Linked DNA regions of Homo sapiens: all the other regions are linked to region 1. Evidence: promoter capture Hi-C in 16 types of primary human blood cells and fetal thymus (Javierre and others, 2016). All regions are on one chromosome and are shown on one strand. Each heading gives the region's core, a stretch centred on a gene start or on the middle of the fragment in contact. The rest is flanking DNA. Distances are from core to core; before and after follow the strand shown.

Evidence for each region. Contacts are between HindIII fragments. The CHiCAGO score rates a contact against its expected background, and 5 or more counts as called.
Region 2: a contact is called between a fragment that was not itself captured here and the fragment with the promoter of H3C8 in region 1, in 15 of 17 cell types (erythroblasts, M2 macrophages, fetal thymus and 12 more). The highest score is 13.9, in erythroblasts.
Region 3: a fragment that was not itself captured here is called in contact with the fragment with the promoter of H3C8 in region 1 in 1 of 17 cell types (neutrophils); the score reaches 5.1 in neutrophils.

The regions. Positions count from the first base shown.
Region 1 is chr6:26,268,840-26,273,465 of GRCh38, reverse strand. It overlaps H3C8 (H3 clustered histone 8), which reads left to right and starts at 2,053. Exons shown (of 1, transcript NM_003534.3): 1 at 2,053-2,548. The coding sequence starts at 2,082. The coding sequence ends at 2,492. It overlaps H2BC10 (H2B clustered histone 10), which reads right to left and starts at 535. Exons shown (of 1, transcript NM_003525.3): 1 at 54-535. The coding sequence starts at 490. The coding sequence ends at 110. It also overlaps the pseudogene H2AC10P. RefSeq lists enhancers at 15-64, 75-204, 275-614, 945-1,284, 3,012-3,151 and 1 more. The HindIII fragment of the contact is 12,049 bases long and covers 1-2,652 here.
Region 2 is chr6:26,528,130-26,532,759 of GRCh38, reverse strand. No RefSeq gene overlaps it. Among named protein-coding and RNA genes, the nearest start is that of TRT-AGT2-1, 2.5 kb to the left of the region's middle. RefSeq lists a cis regulatory region at 1-56. The HindIII fragment of the contact is 5,099 bases long and covers 1-4,179 here.
Region 3 is chr6:26,007,386-26,011,604 of GRCh38, reverse strand. No RefSeq gene overlaps it. Among named protein-coding and RNA genes, the nearest start is that of H1-1, 8.3 kb to the left of the region's middle. The HindIII fragment of the contact is 1,116 bases long and covers 2,249-3,364 here.

The DNA.
Region 1 (4,626 bases), core at 804-3,303:
TTTTACCTTGCCAATGCCAAGTCTGGAAAATTACAGATCTTTAAATGACAACATGGGTGGCTCTTAGAAGAGCCTTTGGGTCGTTAGCGCTTTTACCCAGGTAACTAGTTTACTTGGAGCTGGTGTACTTGGTGACCGCCTTGGTGCCCTCCGACACCGCGTGTTTGGCCAGCTCCCCGGGTAGCAGCAGGCGCACAGCCGTTTGGATCTCCCTGGAAGTGATGGTCGAGCGCTTGTTATAATGCGCCAGGCGGGAAGCCTCGCCTGCAATGCGCTCGAAAATGTCGTTGACGAAGGAGTTCATAATCCCCATAGCCTTGGACGAGATGCCGGTGTCGGGGTGGACCTGCTTCAGCACCTTGTACACGTACACGGAATAGCTCTCCTTGCGGCTGCGCTTGCGCTTCTTGCCATCCTTCTTCTGTGCCTTGGTCACCGCCTTCTTGGAGCCCTTCTTCGGGGCGGGAGCTGACTTAGCTGGTTCAGGCATGTTCGCAGCCGAAGTGATACCGTCAAATGACCACAGGAAAATGCTGGTGAGCCCAAACGCCCTCATTATTTACCTCGTGTATATGCAAATGAGGCTGGCTGAGTTTCGGTTTCTCATTGGTTCTTTTAGTGTCTGAATATATGATAGGCCATTTCTGAACTCCTAAATCTCATCGGCTCTCCCAGAAGCTCAACCTTGCATAATTTGACCTTTCAACTATAAGTATGTAAGTCAGAAGTGGTTTTTTTTTTTTTTTTTTTTTTAAATTTTTTTAAACACCTGCTTTTCGATTGGCTGAAATCTGTGTTCAGGAGATAGCACAGTCTACTTTGCCGAATATAGATTATAAGAGTTTAGCTCTTGCGTTTTACTAGAATCAATCACTTTCCTTCTTCTAAACAAGTATTTAAATACTTCACTGCGTCTGGATGTGGAATGCAGGGCAGCAAAGCTCGCGCCAAGGCTAAAACGCACTCTTCCAGGGCTGGTCTCCAGTTTTCTGTGGGCCGAGTGCACCGCCTCCTCCGCAAGGGCAACTACGCCAAGCGGGTCCGGGCCGGTGCGCCGGTGTACCTGGAGGCGGTGCTGGAGTACCTGACCGCCAAGATCCTGGAGTTGGCGGGCAACGCGGCCCGAGACAAGAAGACCCGCGTCACCCCCCGACGCCTGCAGCTCGCCATCCACGACGAGAAGCTCAACAAGCTGTTGGGCAAAGTTACTATCGCGCAGGGCGGTGTCCTGCCCAATATTCAGGCCGTGCTGTTGCCCTGTCTATACAAGTGACTGACTAGGCAAACAGGACTAATGAGAAAATGTTTAATATCTCAAGTAAGTGCTTTAATGTAGTCGGGAAGAAGCAAGTTCAGTAACGTTTACAAAACCTTGTAAAGTTTAGATGGACAGGGCCACTGCAGTGTTCAAGTTATCCTGCAGAAGAGGCTAGTGGGGGTGGTATCCTGGAATATCATCAATAGGACCCAACGAAAAGTAAATGATAAGAGTCGTTGGAAAACCTAAAATTAGCCTGTGCCTTAAAAATTCTCAACCGAAGCAAAACACCATTTGGGACAAAATAGAATTCAGTTAACATTTGTTGCTCACTGTTGTATGTCGGTGACTTCTTGGCTCGTGATTTCCCAGGTACATCACCCAGGAATCCTGCCTTATAATGGTCAAAGGTTTCCAGCTAGCAGCAGTCCAGGTGACTCAAGAAAACGGCACAAGATAAACTTCTCAAAACGTGGTCCTCCGAATCTGGCCCCACAACACATCTACTGAATGAGAATTAGCGTCTTCCAAGTCTTAAAGTAGTCGTTTACGGACTACAGCTTGAGAAGCGCAGAATTAGAACTTTAAGAAGTTAACGTTCTTGGATCGCAGACTAACCGAGAAGAGAGGATTCAAAAATGAAGTGATTCATCCAATCAGATTTTCCAGTAATTCACCAATCACATCGTTGGACTCTTCAGCCAATGGTTTTGTTGCGCGGGTCTTTTGAAAATCAACAAGGCCAATTAGAATGTTTCTGAGTATATATAAGGGCAGTTTCCACTCTGCCAAGTGGCTGAGTTTTTCTTTCAGGTAGTCTGAGATGGCCCGCACCAAGCAGACTGCACGCAAGTCCACCGGTGGCAAAGCGCCGCGCAAGCAGCTGGCCACTAAGGCGGCTCGGAAAAGCGCGCCGGCCACCGGCGGCGTGAAGAAACCTCATCGCTACCGTCCCGGCACCGTGGCTCTGCGCGAGATTCGCCGCTATCAGAAGTCGACTGAGCTGCTGATCCGCAAGTTGCCTTTCCAACGCCTGGTGCGAGAAATCGCTCAGGACTTCAAGACAGATCTGCGCTTTCAGAGTTCCGCGGTGATGGCCCTGCAGGAGGCCTGCGAGGCCTACTTGGTGGGGCTCTTTGAGGATACCAACCTGTGTGCCATCCATGCTAAGCGAGTGACTATCATGCCCAAGGACATTCAGCTCGCTCGCCGCATTCGTGGGGAGAGAGCGTAGAGGTTTCCGGGCAGTAATTCTATCCAACTTAAAAAGGCTCTTTTAAGAGCCGCCTACTTTCACCCGAAAATAGCTGTGATTAACTAATCAAATCTTTGAAACTAAACATTGGTTTTAGTACTTAAGTCCTCATTTGATTGGCTAAAGTTAATGGTAAGCTTGCTATATTTGTTCCCGTGCTTTTTCCCGAAAGTGCCAGATTGTCAGCGTCCTTTTCTAAACTGGCTTTTAGGGGTTTGGAGCTTCGATTTGGTAGTGGAAGGGGCCACCTGGGGGCGTTTATATACATTGTCTCAAGCGTTAGTCGCGTTGTCTACTTACACCCATTATAGATGGGATTTTTTTTCGTTGTGTATTTCTGGTTAATCCCTTTTAAAACTTTACAGGTATGAGCATTGGCAGTTGAGAGTAGGTAGGGATATCCTTGGTTGCTGCTTTTTCGTGTCTGAAGCAGCTATTTCCACAATTCCCCCTTTTTTTAAACAGTTCTTGGTTTTTCTGTGAAATGATCCATTTTTTAATTCAATATTAGAAATTGGCGGCAGAAACGAAAGCCAGATTGGCCTCTACATTACTGGCAGCATGGGCATTACGTGGGAACTTGTTAGAAGCTCCCAGGGCATTACATGGGAGCTTGTTTCAATCCCCATCTAGGGCTGGAGTCAATCTGCATATACCTCAGATGATTCTCATGAACACTGATTTAGGAAGCCTAGGTTGTTGGTTTTGGTCTCATCAGTAAAGGCATCCTGCCTGTGAACTCTTACAAGGAGTGAGCTTTTGCAAAATGCATGTTTATTTATGTTACAGAATGAAATATTCTATGAAATGTTCTCTAAAGCAAGTGCACAGAACAATCCCCTAAAATAGTTTGATTTCTTTACAGATCAGTTTTCTCAATGTAACATTACAGTCACATGGGAAGGCTTTAGAAAAATCTTTACCTGGGGTTCAATGAGACTAATAGCAATCTAGAGTGGGCCCAGGGAATGGTAATTATTAAAATTCAGGTGCTTCTAACAGCTGGGGCTGAGACTCCTTGCTACATAAATTTTAATACTCTTATTAGCTCTGGTTTGACTCTAGGCTTAGCAGTTTTCTAATTGAATCAGTTTCCTTGTAGTTTGCCTTCAGAGAGAATATACTGGTCTCTAAAGACTTTCTGGCTTGCTTGACTATCTTTCAACACCTGGCTTTTATAAGAATTTCTTAGGGCAACACTAATGTAAGTTTTTTCTTTTTTGTTTTGTTTTGTTTTTTGTTTTTTTGAACCACCGAGGTCCTTTTAGTGATTGGAAGTATCAGGTTTTTAGGGATGTTACAAGGAGGAACACATACCATCCTGGGCTGCTTGGCATACAACCAAGATATGTTTTCATATAGAACCCTTCCTTTACAGATTAGCACAAGGCCCTGTTTGGGTATTCAGCAGATCCTTCTTTATGATCTTTATTAATTTAGCAACTTGTCATTTTTTTTCACATATTGCTTTTATTTTAAAAACTTATTTGACATTCCAGAATATATGGGAAAGGAGATAATAGTTTAATAAAACCTATGTTCCTCTCATCCAGCTTCAATAACAACATTGGCTAAGTGTTTTATCTATTGATTTTTGTAAAGCAAATAATGAAACTGCCTAATGGGTTCACCTTGCCCACTGCCTAGACAAAGCTGATTTATCTAGGCAGGGAATTGCAATAGAGAAAGTAATTCACGCCGAGCCAGCTGTGCGGGAGACCGTAGTTTTATTGTTACTCAAATCAGTCTCCCCAGCATTCCAGATGGGGGGGAAGCCGATGAACCAGGAGTCCTGATTGGTCAGGTCAGAGATGTCATTATAGGGAGCTGAAGGTGTCTCCTTGGGCTGAGTCAGTTTCTGGGTGGAGGCCACAAGATCGGATGAGTCAGTTTACCAATCTGGGTGGGGCCAACTGATCCATCAGGTCTGCAAAATATCTCAAGCACTGATCTTAGGAGCAGTTTACGTGGGGTCAGAATCTTGTAGGTTCCAGCTGCAGGACTCCTAAACCATAATGTGTGTGTTTTTTTTTTTCTTTGAGACAGTCTCACTGCGTTGCCCAGGATGGAGACTGTAAACTCTGCCTCCCAGGTTCGAGCGATTCTCCTGTTC
Region 2 (4,630 bases), core at 381-2,880, 260 kb before region 1:
CAGAATAATGAAATTCTGAATTTCTTGCTTTTCTTACACTTTTCTTCCACATGTTATATCTTACAACATGTACGAGAGGAACCAGGGAAAGCAGAAGGCAAACACCAAATTTAAACTACAAGCAACATCATAATCTCTAGTCATTCTATTTTCTTTCCTGGGGAAATCCTAAACAGATTCATTGTCAGAATCTGCAGGTAATGTTTTTAGAAGGTCAATCTTTGGAATGATTCATAATCTGTTGTTGAGAAGGCTGTAGCATCTCTGAAAATTCACAGCAAACAGTAAGATCTGGCCACATAAAACAAGCTGTGATTCGCTATTTAAAAAGATTGCATTGTACTCAGAGTTTTTTGGAAAGGAACAAATCAAAGCAAAAACAAATATTTGTCACCAAGACTTGAGAAAAGAAGCTGTCAGAGAAGCCTCCATTTGCTTATGGGGCCCACTAGAACAGGCTGACTTGAAGAAGTCCAGGAAGGGTTGAGATGCCTTCTCCCAAACTCTCCAAGAGGAAGAAAGAGAAATTGAGAAGTAGGAAAGAAGTCAGTTTTACTCTTAGCAGAAGTTCTCCACATAGAAACACAAGACCAAGGAAATGGAAGTTCACTGTAACTATTACCAACCCTCTCACCCATCTCCCAAGACCCAGCCCACAGCTCACCTGGCACAGAAAGTTCCACTTCTCTGGCTTTTGCTTTCAGAGCATATTATTTTATGTAGATTGTCAAGGCTTGCAATATGATTTCCTGTTCTAGCTCTGGAGACAAAATCCCAACACTTGGAGGAACAGCTCAGAAGCAACTCTACTTTTATGGAGACTTTCTACTCCCATTCCGCAGCTTAATTCCCCACTTTTCTTTTTTGTTGTTGTTTTTTTTTTTTTTTTTGAGACGGAGCCTCGCTCTGTCACCCAGACTGGAGTGCAGTGGTGTGATCTTGGCTCACTGCAACCTCTGCTTCCAGGGTTCAAGCAATTCTCCTGCCTCAGCCTCCCGAGTAGTTGGGATTACAGGCGCCCACTATTATGCCCGGCTAATTTTTGTATTTTTAGTAGAGACGGGGTTTCACCATGCTGGTCAGGCTAGTCTTGAACTCCTGACCTCAGGTGATCTGCCCACCTCGGCCTCCCAAAGTGCTGGGATTACAGGTGTGAACCACCGCCCCCGGCCAATTCCCCACTTTTCTTTATAAACATCAAGCACCAATGGAAAGGCAGACCCTTCTTTTTTTTCACTAGAGCCTTCTATCTTCTGTTCTTTTTCCCTAGGCCCAGATACAAACTTCCCTCAAATGATAAGACAGGCTGGGTCACTGGTGCAGATGTCAACACTAAATCACTAATTCATCCCCTTACCAATCCTGCCTCATTTCCACTCTCCTGCTCCATCAGCTCCAGAAATACCTTTATAGGAGGCTTGTGGCCAAGTGGCCCTCAACAGATTGCATGGTCTGTACACTGAGTTGGCAGTAGTGGTACTGGCTACTGAAGCTATTGAATATTCCAGGTGATGAGTCTCACTATCTTTCCCAAAAGCCTATGTCTTCCTAGTTCTCCATATATGGATACATCATGGAAACAATTTATGTGTAAAAGTGGAAATGGTTTGCAATCAGATGCTTGTTTGTCTAGTGAGTGGCTATTTGTCAATGGCCAATTACTATGTGGCAGTTACCATGCTAATCACACATGGGTGAAGAGGCTGATGGGAAGGGAGAACAATTTAATGGCAGTTATAGTATAGTGGGATGTAATACTATTGGGAGTACAGGGTGCTTTGAGCCACACTTGCCTATTTATTTATTTATTTATTTAGAGATGGAGTCTCGCTCTGTTGCCCAGGCCGGAGTGCAATGGCGCAATCTTGGCTCACTGCTACCTCTGCCTCCTGGGTTCAACGATTCTCCTGCCTCAGCCTCCCGAGTAGCTGGGACTACGGGCACCCACCACCACGCCCGGCTACTTTTTGTATTTTTAGTAGAGACGGGCTTCACCATGTTGGCCAGGCTTGTCTCGAATTCCTGACCTCAAGTGATCCACCTGCCTCGGCCTCCCGAAGTGCTGGGATTACAGGTGTGAGCCACCACGCTCGGCCCCACATTTGCTTATTTATTTATTTTTTTTAGGGACAGAGTCTGGCTCAGTTGCCCAGGCTGGGGTGCAATAGCACAATCCTAACTCACTGCAGTCTTGAACTCCTGGGCTCAAGCAATCCTGCTGCTTCAGCCTCCTTGAGTAGCTAGGCCTACCAGTGTGTGCCACTATGGGTCTGCCACCACGTCCAGGTGATTTTTGTTTTGTTTGTAGAGATAGGGTTTCATAATATTGTCCAGGCTGTTCTCCAACTCCTGGGCTCCAGACATACTCTGGCCTAGGTCTTCCAAAGTGTTGGGATTACAGGCATGGGTCACTGCGCTGGCCTGCAGCCTCATTTGAAAACAAACCTGTCTGTGTGGGGCTGGGTGCAGTGGGGATCACCTCTGTAATCTCAGCACTTTGGGATGCTAAGGTAGGAGGATCACTTGAAGCCAGGAGCTGAAGACCAGCTTGGGCAACATAGTCCATAGTGAGACCACATCTCTACATAAAATAAATTAGCCTGGCATAATGGTGTGTACCTGTAGCCGTAGCTACTCGGGAGGCTGAGGCGGAAGGATCTCTTGAGCTCAGGAGGTTGAGGCTGAAAAAAACAAAACAAAACAGAAAAACAGACAAACAAAAACCCTGATTGGGCGAAGGTGGAAGGAAGACTTTATGGAAGAAGTGATACCCACACTGAGCCATGAGGGAGACACAGAACTTGTCAAGGAAAGAGGATAGACGTGGGAGGAGTAGAATAGATGCCCTGGGCAAAGGGAACAGTGTGTAACTAAAGGTGAGGAAGAGAATGCTCAGTTCAGATAAGTGGAAAGCAGTTAGGTGAGGGTATGTGCAAGTCTTAAAACTGTTTTTTGTCTGGAGATAGGCGGAGAACATTTGACTTGGCAGTTGATAAGTGTCAGGTGTTTCATGCTTTCTTTTAAAAAGACAATGCCTTACCAAAGCAGTTTGGATAGCATTTGAATTTACAAGTTGTGGATTAAGTAGGGCCTCTAGCTCAGCTGCTGAGGTTCTCCTATGGGCAGGTGGAGCTAGAAGGGACTGTGTTTCCCATTGCATTCTAAGTAGCGATGCTCATCTACTTGCTTCATATCTGTCTGAGCTAGCCTGTTTACTTCTCAAGGCAAGGGCTGTGCCTGTCCTCTTCACTGCTGTATCTCCAGAGACCAGCACAGGGCCTGGCCAACAGCAGTGTGATGATTAATATTATGTGTCAATTAGAGTGGTTCATTAGATACTCAGATTACACATTGTTTCTGGCTGGGCTTGGTGGCTCATGCCCGTACTCCCAGCACTTTGGGAGGCCGAGGTAGGAGGATCGCTTGAGCCCAGGAGTTTGAGACCAGCCTGGCCAACATAGTGAGGCCCTCATGTCGCTACAAAAAAAAAAAAATTAAAAATTAGCCAGGTGTGGTGGTACGCACCTGTAGTCCCAGCTACTCATGAGACTGAGGTGGGAGGAATGCTTGAGCCCAGAAGATCGAGGCTGCAGCGAGCCCTGGTTGTGCCACTGCACTCTAGCCTAGGTGACAGAGCGAGACCTTATCTCAGGGTGCTTCTGGATGAGATTATCATCTGAATCAGGGACTCAGTAAAGCAAATTGCCCTCCCGGGTATGATCCCTCCCATTTGTTAAGGGCCTTAATAGAACAAAGGTTGAGGAAGGAGGAATTCACCTCTTCTCCCCCTACCCCACTGATTTACATCTCATTTTTTTTCCTCTTGCTCTTGGACTGGGATTTACTTCGTTGACTCCCGGGGCTTTCAGGCCTGATTGAGACCCAAACTGAATTACACTACCTGTTTTTCTGGGGCTCCAGCTAGCAGATGGCAGATTGTGGGACTTCTCAGCCTCCTCCATAATTGTGTGAACCAATTCCTTATCATAAATTACTGTCTCTCTCTCCATAGACAGGCATAGATAGATAGATACATACACACATACATACATAGTTAATAGATAGATAGACTATTAGTTCGGTATTTCTGAAGGACCCTAATACAAGCAGGTACTCAACTATGAAAAAAAAAATACAATGTATCAGGCATTTGTTGTTTGCCAGACACTCTTCTAAGCTTTTTACATATTCCAAGTCATGTAATCCTTACTGCATAGTTATGAGGAAAGGTACAGTTATTTCCTCCATTTTAAAGAGAAGGGCACTGAGGCACAAGGATGCAAAGTCACTTTCCTGGAAGGTAAGTAGCTGGCAAGTGGCAACGTCCAGAGATGGGCCTAGGCAGCCTGAATTGAATTCGACTAATCTGCTGGCCTTCCAAGCACCTTTAAGTGTTTTTTCTGCTACCCTAGGGGGTACACCTATTTGCCATTTCCTCCTTTCTCTTATGTTGCCACCTCTGAAGGAGGGATTCAAAGCCACGTTTGATCAGAATGTCAGGGTAGGCAGAAATGGAGTGAATATGTGGAGTGAATACTTGGGCAATAAGGGGGACCTTTGTTCTTTTCTAGCCTTGCTGATGATGATATTTCTAACACATATCAATTCATTTTTCTTTTAGTGCATGCTT
Region 3 (4,219 bases), core at 1,557-4,056, 260 kb after region 1:
GTGGGACTACATGTGCAGGCCACCATGCCCAGCTAATCTTTGTATTTTTTTGTAGAGATGGTGCTGTTGCCCAAGTTGGTCTCAAACTCCTGAGCTCAAGCAATCCATCAACCTTGGCCTCCCAAAGTGTTGGGACTAGAGGTGTGAGCCACCACTGCACCCAGCCAATGATATCTCATGATGCATTAAAGTCATTAATTTAGTGTACTCAAATTAAGCACACTGCCCTTTTATGCACAACCTTTTTTGTATCTTATTTAAAAAATCATTTTCTATTTCAAGGTCATGAAGATCTTATTTTATAATACCTTCTTGTGAAATTAGTTCTCAAGACTACCCTCACTTCTAACACCAATTATAAGTTGGGAGGTCTGTGGTTCCCAATCAACCTTAGGTTAGTAATTTGCTAAAAGGACTCACAGAACTTGCTGAAGCTGTTAGCCTCATGGTTACAATTTATTATAGGATATATAGCTTATTATGTCATTCCAATGCAATGTAAAATTATACAACTACTTTTAAAAAGATTTTAGCATTTGACCCAACAATTTCACTCTGAGGTATACAAACAGCAGATATGTGTGCACATATATACCAAGACACATACACAGCAAAATTCATTGTTTGTAATAGTTGAAAAGGGGAAACAACTCAAGGAATAAAGATTAAAATCAGCTGAGAAAAGAAACACACAAGGCAGTATTATGGATCGAATTGTATGCAGATCTCCCTTGCCCCCAGAAGATATGTTTAAAGTCCCAACTCCCAGTACCTCAGAATTGTGGCCTTATTTGGAAATAGGATAGTTGCAGATATAATTAGTTAAGATGAGGTTATAGTACAGTATGATGGGCTGGTGACTTAGAAGAAGTAGTATATATATATTTTTTAATAGAACTAGTATTCTTCTAAGGTGGTCACGTGAAGACAGACACACACAGGCAGAGACTGAGGTTATGCAGCTGCAGGTCAAGGAATGTCAAAGGTTGCCAGCAAGTACGAGAAGCTAGGAAGAGTCAAGGAAGGATTTTCCTACAGGCTTCAGTGGAAGCATAGATCTAATGATACCTTCATGTCAGATTTCTAGCTTCCAGAACTACAAGAGAATATATTTGTTGTTTTAAGCCACCCTAGCTTCTAGCTCTTTGTTACAGCAGCCCTAGGAAACTAATATAGGCACAATCCAGGCAAGTTCCAAATATGAGCTTCCAGTTGTCCTCTCCCAGTAATATGAACAGTATTACTTTCCCAGCATTAATGTGTGACAATACACATGACGTACAGAGCAGTCCCCACTTATGCACAAAACATATGTTCCAGGACCTCCAGTGGATGTCTGAAACCATGGATAGTACTGAACTCTATATAGCTGTTTTTTCCTATACAGACACAGCTATGATAAGGCTTAATTTATAAATTAGGCACAGTAAGAGATTAATAACAATAAATTAGAATAATTGTTAAGAATATACTGTATAAAAGTTAGGTGAATGTTTATTTCTGAAATTTACCGTTTATTATTTTTGGACTGCAGTAGACCACAGGAACTAAAACCATGTAGAAACCGTATACAAGAGAACTGTATTTCACCCGAGCCTCAGTGTGCAGTTTTAATGGCCTGCCATGGTTGACTGCTCACATGGCCGATCTTTTAGTCTACCTCCACAGGTAGAGCTGATACTGTGTGGCTCAAAGTTCCTATTATAAATCACATTGTTGACTGTGTGGTGGTCAAAACCTCCAGGTAAACAAAGACACACTTATCAGTGAGAACATTTCAAGGGTCTAAAATTCATCTCCCAGTAGCTGAGGGCAAAGGCTAGACCTCTTTTTGGGTAAGATAAATTTTTTACCATATACTTTATTTTGCTTTTCATGTTTAACTTTATTTTGCTTTTCATGTTAGTTCCCCTGGAATTGTTTTTTGTGTATAGTGTGAAGTAGGGGGTCAAGTTTCTTTTTTTTTCCTTTTTGTTCTTTTTCTGTTTAAAAGGCTATACAATTGTCCCATGCCATTTATTTACAAGAGTCCTTTCACCATTGTTGTATGGTGCCACTTTAGATGTAAATCAATGTCCATATTTGTTTGAGCCTGTTCCATTCGTTTGTCTATTTTTGGACAACACTGCCCTGATTATTGTCATTTTATCAGTTTTGATATTTAATAAAGCAACAGATTTGTTTATTTTGGGCCCTTGGATTTGTGTATTAAATTTGAACCCTGTTTGTCAATTTCTATAATAAAGCTTATTGGGAATCTGATTAGGATTACAATGGTTTTGTAGATCAGTTTGGGGACAATTAATACCTTTAAAATATTGACCGCTTCAACTGTAAATATACTCCTCCATTATTTAGTTTTCCTGTTTAATTTATCTGAGTAATACATTATAGTTTTCTTCGTAGAAGTCAGATACGTAGAAAATTCAAAGCCCAAGTGCAATAGCTCATGTCTGTAATACCAGCACTTTGGGAGGCCGATGTGGGTGGATCACCTGAGGTCAGGAGTTTGAGACCAGACTGGCCAACATGGTGAAACCTCATCTCTAGTAAAAATACAAAAATTAGCTGGGTGTGGTGGCGGGCACCTGTAATCCCAGCTAATCAGGAGACTGAGGCAGGAGAATCGCTTGAACCCAGGAGGCAGAGGTTGCAGTGAGCCAAGTTCCTGTCACTGCACCCCACCCTGGGCGACAGAGCGAGACTTCGTCTCAAAAAAACAAAAAAAAGAACATTCAAATAATCAATGTAGATAATTCAAATAACTAAAAAATGAACAGTTATTAAAATATCAGGATATAAAAGCAAAAAAATCAATAACCTCCATATATACAAAATGGCCAGTTAGAGAAAAAAAAAAGAATAGGCGAGACTTAAAAAGGCTGGGAATCTCCCTGAAAATCTTTGAGAGCCTTGGCCCTGCCCTCAGGGATTTCTCTGGCTTCATGCCCAGATACGGGTACAGTTCCTTGTTTAAAAAAATTTTGCTCCATCAATCAACAAGGGGCTCCTTCCTCAGAGCACAAGGACCTCCATAACACCGGACACTAGATGTCTAAGGGACACCTCTTAAGGAAGTTAGACTTCCAAAGAATGGTGTTTCCTCTGTCCCCAAACTCTGGAACTCACAGCACAACTGCTCCTTGGAGTTCGGTTTCAAATCTACAAGGCTGTCATGGAGGTTGCAGACCAAGTCCGTGGCCTCAGTGTCCGGATGTACGGTGGCCTTGGCACCTGAATGTGAGAACATGACCTCCCTGAAACCACCACAAGTATTGTTTCATGTTATGTATGTTTTTTCTTATCTGAAATTCCTTTTCTTTAAAAATTCAAATTACATATTTTGCAAGCCCCTGAACAAGCTTCATGAGCATTTATTGAACCCACAGCTTTTAAAACCTACTGAACACTTTGCTCTATGTTGTCATTCACTATCCACCAATTATTTAATTATTGATCAATATTGTTTCCTTAGTGTTGGGATCATTTATGCATGTATTTCTTTTATATTGCATATTTTATATTTCTGCATTACAGTTATTACATATTACTTTTGCTACAGTAATAGTTCAAAAGTGTACATCCAAAATTTAGCTGTGAAGTGGATGGACTGAGGCAGAACTGGAGGCAAGAAAATGTCACAGTAATTCTAAAAAAGATGATGTACAATTAGAGCAAGAGAGTAGCACTGAAATTGAAGAAAAATAGATGCGTTTGAGAGAAAATTAGGAGGTAGAATCAACAGATTAGATGTAGGGATGAGAAGGGTCAAAGATGACACTAGGGTTTTTAACTGGAGCAAGTAGGTAGACAGAACATTTCTTCCTGAAAGGGCAGGTCAGATCATGTGTTGTCTCAAAGGGCATGAAGAGTAGAAAGCCTGGGACAGATCCTGAGATGACCAATACCCATGGTGCAGGGAGAGGGAGGGAGATCTGCTAAAAAGACTGCAAATGTCAGGATAGTAGAAAATCATGAGTGTGTGATGTCCTGGAAGTTGAGACAGTATCACATTTGAGAACATTTAAATTGGTAACTCTGACAAAAAGCTGGAGGCCAACTGTGAATGCCCATGAGAGTGAGAAGCTCCCACACTTTTGTGGGCATCAGAAAGCCCACCAGGTTCCTGCAGTGAAGATCTGAGAAGGATCCTCTTGTGGCTTTGGCAGGGAGAGAAGAATTATTATGAAATACACCCCAGAACCTTCTTCAAAACAAA